Regions from separate parts of the Homo sapiens genome. Here region 1 is linked to region 2. The links are contacts of gene promoters, found by promoter capture Hi-C in blood cells and fetal thymus (Javierre and others, 2016). All regions are on one chromosome and are shown on one strand. Each heading gives the region's core, a stretch centred on a gene start or on the middle of the fragment in contact. The rest is flanking DNA. Distances are from core to core; before and after follow the strand shown.

The links. Contacts are between HindIII fragments. The CHiCAGO score rates a contact against its expected background, and 5 or more counts as called.
Region 1: a fragment that was not itself captured here is called in contact with the fragment with the promoter of IGF2R in region 2 in 1 of 17 cell types (neutrophils); the score reaches 7.2 in neutrophils.

Annotation. Positions count from the first base shown.
Region 1 is chr6:159,019,153-159,023,995 of GRCh38, reverse strand. All of the region lies in intron 1 of TAGAP-AS1 (TAGAP antisense RNA 1), which reads right to left. Among named protein-coding and RNA genes, the nearest start is that of RSPH3, 21 kb to the right of the region's middle. The HindIII fragment of the contact is 4,159 bases long and covers 1,442-4,843 here.
Region 2 is chr6:159,966,916-159,971,287 of GRCh38, reverse strand. It overlaps IGF2R (insulin like growth factor 2 receptor), which reads right to left and starts at 2,206. Exons shown (of 48, transcript NM_000876.4): 1 at 1,893-2,206. The coding sequence starts at 2,041. RefSeq lists silencers at 1,586-1,715, 1,736-2,015, 2,026-2,645. The HindIII fragment of the contact is 4,184 bases long and covers 1-2,813 here.

The DNA of each region.
Region 1 (4,843 bases), core at 2,272-4,771, 950 kb after region 2:
CCCTGTCACCTTCTGCCATGATTGTAAGTTTCCTGAGGCCTCCCCAGCCATGCCTCCTGTACAGCCTGTGGAACTGTGGGTCAATTAAGACTCTTTTCTTCAAAGATGACCCAGTTTCAGGTAGTTCTTTATAGCAGTGTGAGAATGGAATAATATACTACTTCTAATTATTTTTTAGATCCTTAGGATGTAGAAAACAATCATATGTAAACAATCGTATTGCCTGCAAATAAGGACGATTTTGCTTCCTTCTTTCCAATCTTTATCATTTTATCATTCTTTATTGCAGTGGCTAGAAGCTCCAATTCAATATTGAGTAGAAGTGGTAAAAAAAATGAGCACATTTGCCTTTTTTCTGAGTTTGGTAGAATATCATTTAATATTTCACCATTAAGTATAATGCTCACCGTAGGTTTTTCATAGATGCTTTTTATGAAGTTGAAGAAGTCCTTCATAGTCAGTTTGGTGAGAATTTTTCTTATAAATGGATATCAAATTTTGTCATATTTTTTATCTACATATGAAAATGATCAGATGGTTTTTCTCCTTTATTCTGTTAATATGGTGAGTTATATTGATTTTCTAATGTTAAACAAACCTTGAATTCCTGGGATAAAACTAATTGGTTATGCTGTATTATTTTATTATTTGCTTTATGTTTGTCTCCTCTGCTGTTAGTCCCTCTTGTTCTCCCTTTCCTATATTCTTTTGGATTAAGTGAATATTTTTATAATTTCATTTTAACTTACCTATTGGTCTTTTAGTCTTTTGCATGATTTCTTAGAAGCTCCTCTAGAGACTATAATATAATCCCTTAACTTCTCAGTCTACTGGCAATTTTACTGGTCCATTTACCCTCCCCGGCCACACCACCAACACTGCCACCATCTTTTATGCCATAGCTGCCATAAAATCTATCTACATGTGATATAAACCTTAAGTCAATATTATGTCCTTTATACAGTTGTGCATATGTGAAAGAAATTAAGAGGAAAATTGGTCTTTGATGTTTACTCCAATATTTATAATTTTTTATGCTTTTTATTCCTTTTCTCATATCATCTCCCTTCAGTCTGTACAACTTTCTTTAGCTTCTGGAAGTGCAGGTCTTCTGGTGATGAATTCTCTTAGTTTTCTGATATCTGAAGATGTCTTCATTTTGCTTTCATTCTTGAAGGGTATTTTTGCTAGACAGAGATTTCTAAGCTGACAGTTTTTTCTTTAAGCACTTCAACAATTTCATTCGACTGTCCCTGACTTCTATAATTTCTGCTGAGAAGTCCACAACCATTGAAATCATTATTCTCCTATATATAAAATGTGTCATTTTTATTTACGCTTTTAAGATTCCTCTTTGTTTTTTGTTTGTTTTCAGTAGTTTGACTATGATGTGTCTAGTTTGTTTTTCTTTGTATTTATCCCATTTGGGATTCACAAAGCTTATCCAATCAGAAAATGTAAACATCTTATTAAATTTAGGATGTTTTCAGCCACTATTTTTTCAAATATTTGCCATCCCATTCTTTTTCTCCTCTCTTCCTGATATTTTAACTATCCATAATATCAGTTTTTTTTATATTGTGCCACACATTCCTGAGGCTCTCTATGTTTCTCACTCCCTTCCCCCGCCCCCCTCCTCCTCTCCTCCTCCTTTAGATGGGACAATTTCTATTGCTCTATCTTCAAATTCACTGGTTCTTTCCTCTCTATCTCCATTATGCTATTAGAGCCCATCCAGCAATTTTTTTTTCATGTATTGTATTTGTCAGTTCTAAAATTTCCCCTTTTTGTATATTTTCTTTATATATTTTCCATTTCTTTCCTAAAAGTTCCTATCTTCTCATTTATTAGGAGCATTTTTTTCACTCTATTGAGCACAATAGCTGCTTTAAATTCCTTGACTAATAGTTTCAACATTTCGGTCATCTGAAATTGACCTCTTTTTATTAACTTCTTTGTTGCCAATACATCACATTTTCCTGGTCCTTCATATTTTGAGTAGTTTTGGACATGGTGGATGTTTCATAAGTCAAGACTCTAAATTCTGTTGTATTCATTCCAAGGCTGTTGATACTTTGTTTTAACAAGCAATTGACTTGGTTACACTGAAGGCTGTAAACTCCATGTCTCTCATGGTGAGTGGCCATTCAAATCTCAATTCAGTACTCCAAACCTTAGCTGCAAGTGGCTTTGAATCTGGTTTGTGTGCATGTGGTTCACGGGTCAGCTAGAGACTTGGGCAGAGTTCAGATACAGCATTTGGGTGCCCCCTTCTCTGGCTCTGTCCTCTCTGGGATTTCTCCCTCACTCTCGTGGCCATGATTGCCCCAGGCTCCAGCCCCTGGTTCCCTAGACCAGAAACATGGCAGTCTTTCTATGGGAGTTTTAGCCACCCCCAGACACTTTGTGACCAGGGCCCATCTTTTGGACAAGGCTGAAAAACAGGAAACTCACACTCTCCTCCAAGATTCAACTCCCCTCTGCCTGCATTTGCTCACTTCCCAGGTCTCTTAAGTAGTTACTTTTGGTAGTTTGTCCAGTTTATAGTTGCTATATTTGTGGCAGGGTTGGTCTGTTAGGAGTCTACTCCACCATACCACAGGGTGTGTGTCTCCTTCACCACTGTATCTGCACCATTGAGTTCAGCGTCCTCACCACAATGAGCTGGTGTCCATGGCTCCCAATAGGCTTATTTCAAGGATAAAATTGATCATATCTAAGAAAAGTACTTTAGCATGTTAAATGTACTGTCAAATGTAAGGAGGCATTTAGATATGTGTAGAAACTGGTCAGCTTCCAAAAATGCAAATACATCCCAAATAAATGTTAAGAACAATATACTAAAGTCTTAAGAAACCAGAAACATGTTGGCCAGGCGCGGTGGCTCACGCCTTTAATCCCAGCACTTTGGGAGGCCAAGGCAGGTGGATCACGAGGTCAGGAGATCGAGACTATCCTGGCTAACACGGTGAAACCCCGTCTCTACTAAAAATACAAAAAAATTAGCCAGGCGTGGTGGCGGGCGCCTATAGTCCCAGCTACTAGGGAGGCTGAGCCAGGAAAATGGCGTGAACCCAGGAGGTGGAGCTTGCAGTGAGCCGAGATCGCGCCACTGCACTCTAGCCTGGGTGACAAAGCGAGACTCTGTCTCGAAAAAAAAAAAAAAAAAGAAACCAGAAACATTTCAAGCGGGGGCAACATTTCAAGCGGGGGCACCTCACTGTTAGGTGATGGGGCAACCATCTGGTCATTTCATTCATGATCCCAGTTATTTTCATCTGTAGCAAAAAGTTACAGGATTTTCATTGTTACTAGAAATGAGAAAAAGTATATATATATATATATATATATATATATATATACACACACACACACACACACACACACACATATATATCTGTGATTTCTGGCAAATGTATAGGTGGTATTACACTTGAATTATATCCATATCGTTCCTAAGAATAATTTTATATGCCAAGAGTTAAGATGCCTAAATTCTTTAAAAAGAACAGCAAACATCCACAGGCCTCGGAGCACATTGAGATGCATACAATCTAAATGTATTCCTTTCAGGATTTTGATTGTAAAAAAATTCAACAGCTCCCTCAAAGATAGAGATTATTTATTCAACAAACATTATGGCAGATTCAAGTAGCAAAACAGTCTGTAAATTTGGGCATGTAGACCCAAAAAAGATCCTCTCTCAAACTGCTAACCTGGTGTTGCTAAATGAAACAGTTCTTGCCGAAGAATTTTCACAGGTGTTCATTTGCATCCATGAAATTCCTCTCGTTACATCAGTTTTTAAACAGGTTGTTTGCATCAAGTTTCAAGAGTAATTTGTGAACATTGCTGTCTGACTATCCATCCCCATAGCAGAGATAGTAACTTCTTAAAATTTCCAGTTATTCCTAGAGATTAAAGAGTTGGAAAATAAAAAAGTAAAATTTAAATTACAATCTACTGGTCTAAGCCTATATCTTCAAATGGCCAGGCTTATAAAATGTCTTCTTATTTAATATCCTTGTCTCAGCTGTCTTCCCCACGCAATTTTTTTTAAACAGTCTCAATCTGGCACCTACTGCAGCCTCAACCTCCTGGGCTCAGGTAATTCTCCAATCTCAGCCTGCTGAGTAGCTGGGACTACAGGAGTCCACTACCAGGCCCGGCTACTTTTATTGTATTTTTTATACAGACAGGGTTTCGCCATGTTGCCTAGGCTGGTCTTGAACTCCTGGGCCCAAAGTGCTAGGATTACAGGCATGCGCCACCTCCTCATGCAATTTGAGCAGTATATACAGTTGGAAGCCTCACATTCCAAACCCCACCTTCATCATGTTTCCCAAAATTTTCAAATCCCACCCTTTCACCTGGTCTTTCAGACCTTCCCCTAGAGCAGTAGTACCCAGTACCCGGTTCGTGGCCCAGGCATCAGGGACCCCTGCCCTAGGTTACATCTATTTGTTCTTGGAGTCACTGCCACAGCCACTGTCATTATTCCCTGACGTGGCCCCTCACGGGCTTGTGCTGATGCATGCAAGCCAGCCCTCCATCACTGACCCCACATGCTGTTACTCTGGAGCAGCTCCCACACACATGCAAAGCTGATGTACACCTGGGACTTCGTTCATTCCAGTTCCCTACCTACAATGTCTACACAGTCCACACACCCTGCCACCGGACCTTCGCAGCCATGCAGACACCTCAGCTCAAGAATTACCTCTGACACCTAAAGAACTCACAGACCCCACCTCCCTCCCTTTCTCTTTTGTACCCCACATTTTAATATCTACCATTTTTTCCTGTTTCTCTCCTCCCAGTAGACTATAACTTCCTTAAGGGT
Region 2 (4,372 bases), core at 957-3,456:
GTTCGTGAACACAGGTTCAAGACACTGCCATGACTAACCTAATGCAAAAGTAAGGGTCCCATCAATCAGCCAAAGTATCAGTCTGCCCTTGAAGCCACCTTAATCTTAACTGTGAAGAAAACAAACTTCAATTTGTTAACAAGACCAAGACTTCAACCACACTAGGCCAGCTGGGTTAATTTCTTATTGTATTTATTTATTTATTTTTGAGACAGGGCCTTGCTCTGTCGCCCAGACTAGAGTGCAACTCGACTCGATCACAACTCACTGCAACCTCGACCTGCGGGGCTAACGTTATCCTACCACCTCAGCCTCCCTTAACTGGGAGGACAGGAGTGTGCCACCGCGCCCGGCTCTAATTTTCATATTTTTTGTAGAGACGGGGTTTCGCCATGTTGCTGAAGCTGGCCTCCAACTCCTGGACTCAAGTGACCCGCCCACCTCGGCCTTCCAAAGTGCTGGATTCCGGGCATGAGCCACCGCGCCCAGGCGAGTTAATTTCTTATTTTTGGTCACAGAAGCCATTATTCCAAAATGCCTTCCTCTAAATGTTGTTCTCAGCCTGACCTCGTTTAAGCTGCCACCATTTCTCTGTATCATACTAGTTACTGGAGTAACTATGTATCTTAGGGTAGCTAACTGGTCTTTAAACTAGTGTCACAAACTCTCCCTCCATCCACCCTTCCCCTTCCAAAAAAGGGAGCATAAAAAATATGGGCCTTTCCAAAGAGTTTCTATCGTGAGATCAGCCTCACCCTCCTTAGACTAATTTCTGCATGTTCTGAACACAGGGGTGCTAATAAAACTATCTCTGATGCATGGGAAAAATAAGAACCCCCCCCATAAACCCTACCACAAACTCCAAGTTCAGCCCAAAGTAGGCTCAACTTTGTTTCACTCTGAAAAGTAACTTGTAAAAGTAACTTGTAAAAGTAACAGTAACAGGGAGAAACTGTTGTCTGTTCAAAACTTTTCATCCTGCTTCCTTTTTACCAAAGTTTAAAAAAATAAACAAAAGCTGAATTTTCCATCATCCTAAACAGTCCAGAAAAGGATGGTCAGAAAATTCCTGAAATTCGAAGTTCCCCAGGCCCTGGACTGCTAGCAGTTGCGCGAGGTGAACAGCCCTCGATGGGACTGATGGGTTATACAATCATGGTTCCCAGAGCAAGATCCACTAGAATAATCCGCCCCGGAGACAATGACATCATGTGAGCAACCAGGCAGGAAGTTGGGCTCAGAGAAGTGAAGGGTCAAGTCTTGAAAGCTCACACTGGACGACACCCCCTGCCCCCAATCTAAAGAAGACAAAAGTCACCGCCTGCTAAAAATATATATATATATATATTCTTTAAAGAGAAAATGAGCCCACGGGGGGAAATCAATCAGCAAATGAAACCACAAACACTCAACTCCAGGACCATTCCTGCGGGCTCCAACGCCCCGGTGAGCCTCTCCACACCGAGGGGCCTCACCGGTGCCCCGCTGGCGAAACTCTGATGCAAACGCGCAGCGGGAACAAAGCAAACTGGAGTTCCTGCCTCCAACTTTCCCGGACGCCCGGCCGCGCGAGGGCAGGCGCCGACCCCAAGGGCCGGGGCGACCGCTCCGCACAAAGCCACCCCCGACTCAGCGACAGCCACAAGTGGCCGGACGCGGGGCTCCAGGACCGCCACGACCGCGTGTGCCCCCGCGCCCCCCGCCTGCGCACGGGACCCGGCGGGACTCGCGGACACCACGCAGGCAACTTTCCCTCGGGAACGGGGCGGACCCCGGCGCGGAACGGAGGCGACTTGGAGACCCCAGGAGCTCCTCGAGCGCTCCCCGCCCCCCACGCCGGCCGCTCACCCCGGGCACCGCGAGCGGAGCCTGCGTCCGGGCGGGCCACCCACCTGCACAGCTCGGGGAACGGGGCGGCCTGGGCCTGCGTGGACCCCGGGGCAGCGACGAGCAGCAGCAGCTGCAGCAGGAGCAGAGAGCGCTGCGGGCGGCGGGCGGGCGCGGGCCCCAGGTGGGGGCTCCGGCCGGCGGCGGCCCCCATCGCGCCGGGCCCGGACTGCGCGGCGGGCGCGAGGCTAACGGCGCGCGACTGCTGGGGGCCGCGCCCGGGACGGGGTCGCGCCGCCAGGGCAAAGGCGGAGGTGGAGACGGAGCGGGAGCCCGAGGTGAGCGCGGCTCGACTGGGCTCGGCGACAGCGACAGCGGCAGCGGCGGCCCCGGAACCGCGTCACGTGACAGCCGCCCGGCACCGCCCCCCCACCCCCGCCCCCCGCTCACGTGACTCCCTTGTTCAGGTGACCCCCGCCCGCCCCGGCTCCTCCCAGGCCCGGGTCACGTGAGCGCAGCGCGCGGGACAGGAAGCGGCGCGGGCGGGGCGCAGGCTCCAGGTGCCTCCCGGGGCCTGAGCCTCTCGGCGGGCTGGGCGCGGCGGGGGTGCCTAGCCGGGCCTCAGTTTCCCCTCCCACCGCGCCCTGCTGGATCGTGGCGGGTGCTTCCCAGGTTAGAGCAACTGTTCCCAACCTCGATCGACCAGTAGGGGAAAATAGGGAACTTGGATCAAAGTGCCAGGGAGGTAAATGCCTTCGCACAGCCTAGTGGCAGCGGATCCGTGGGGGGTGGGAACACACTTTAACTGCCCGTGGAGTCAAATCATGGGGGTTTACAACCTTGGCCCGTCAGAGCCTCTCAGACCTTCTGTGGGAATGTTATTTCCCAAGCGTGGGCTTCCTACAGCAAGGAAGGCAGCACAAATCCAGCAAGGTGAAAGAGTGGACAAAAGTGTCGCTGTCAAGCAAGTGCCACTCAACAAAGCTTTATTAATTCACTACGTGGATGGCCATGAGCTAGCCACAATGAAAGTAGAACGATGAATCTAAAAGTCTTGAACTAAAAAAATTCACTTTCTTTTAGAGTAAATATACAAAATAATCATGACTGAAAATAGTAATCATCATCATCATAAAAGCTCATCTTTTTTAGTGCTTATTCCATACCAGACACTGCTAAGCATGTAAGCATGAATCTTTAAAAACCTATGAGATGGGAACCTACTTATAGATGAGGAATTGAGGCACAAGGATACTCAGTGACTTACTCAAAGACACTCTGGGATGTGGCAAAGCTGGAATTCAAACACATATAAATAATCATGACCCAATAATAGCTAACATTTCTTGAGCAAGTAATTATGTACGAAGTACTGAAGTGTTCGGACACTGTGATTTAGCTCATTTAATCCTAACAGTCCTGTAAGAGGGGGTGCCTTTATTGCATCCGTTTTGCAGATAAGGAAAGTGAGGAATGGAGAAATTAAATAACTAGTTAGTCTTGCAGCTAGTAAGTGAAAAAGCCCGGGTTTGAGCCCAAGCCAGTCACAGGCCTGTGACATAACCACCGTGCTATTAATATATTGCCCAAGAAAAGAAAGTGTTGTAGTGGGTCAAAGGGAGAGCTCAGGTGTAAACTGTGGACGTCGAAAAAGGGTTTGTGGTGACCGGGCGCGGTGGCTCGCGACTGTAAACCCAGCACTTTGGGAGGCCAAGGCGGGCGGATCACAAGGTCAGGAGATCGAGACCATCCTGGCTAACACAGTGAAATCCCATCTCTACTAAAAATACAAAAAATTAACCGGGCGTGGTGGCACACGCCTGTAGTCCCAGCTACTCGGGAGGCTGAGGCAGGAGAATCGCTTGAACCCAGGAGGCAGAGGTTGCAGTGAGCAGAGATCGTGCCACTGCACTCCAGCCTGGGAAACAGAGCGAGATTCCATCTCAAAAAAAAAAAAAAAGAAAAAGGGTTTGTGTTTTGCAACTCCAGTGTTATAATGGATACAGGCAAAGACCATCAGTAAATACTAAAACCATCTGGTGAAAAATTATTGTGAAGCGGAATATTCTCTTTGTCTCAAAGTATCACCTTCAAAGTATACTTCCTTAAAAAACACAAAATACCTCTTCACAATGGAAAGATCTGGTAGAACCACCTTAATCAAGTAATTAAAACTAGTATCACCAATTTTTAAAAAACTAGCATTTTCTGCTTTCTAAAGTGATGCAATAAAAAATGCTAAAGGGTAATATTTAAAAGATGGTATAATCATGACTCAGATGTAGAATGAACATGTATCAAAGGTATTCCTTAGCTCATTCATTAATGTGAGAACCGGTAACATGTCACAGCTGGTTCAAAGGAAAATCCAAGGAGAATCCAACAAATATTCAAGCAGTTAGGAATGCTGAAATAAGGTTGTCTATAGATGGAAAATTGGTCAGTAACCATAGGTCAAAAAACAGCTGCGTACGCAATAGACACAATTTGCATTTCTAAAGACAAAAATCGTGTATATTACCATCAGTAGTCTACAATTTACAGA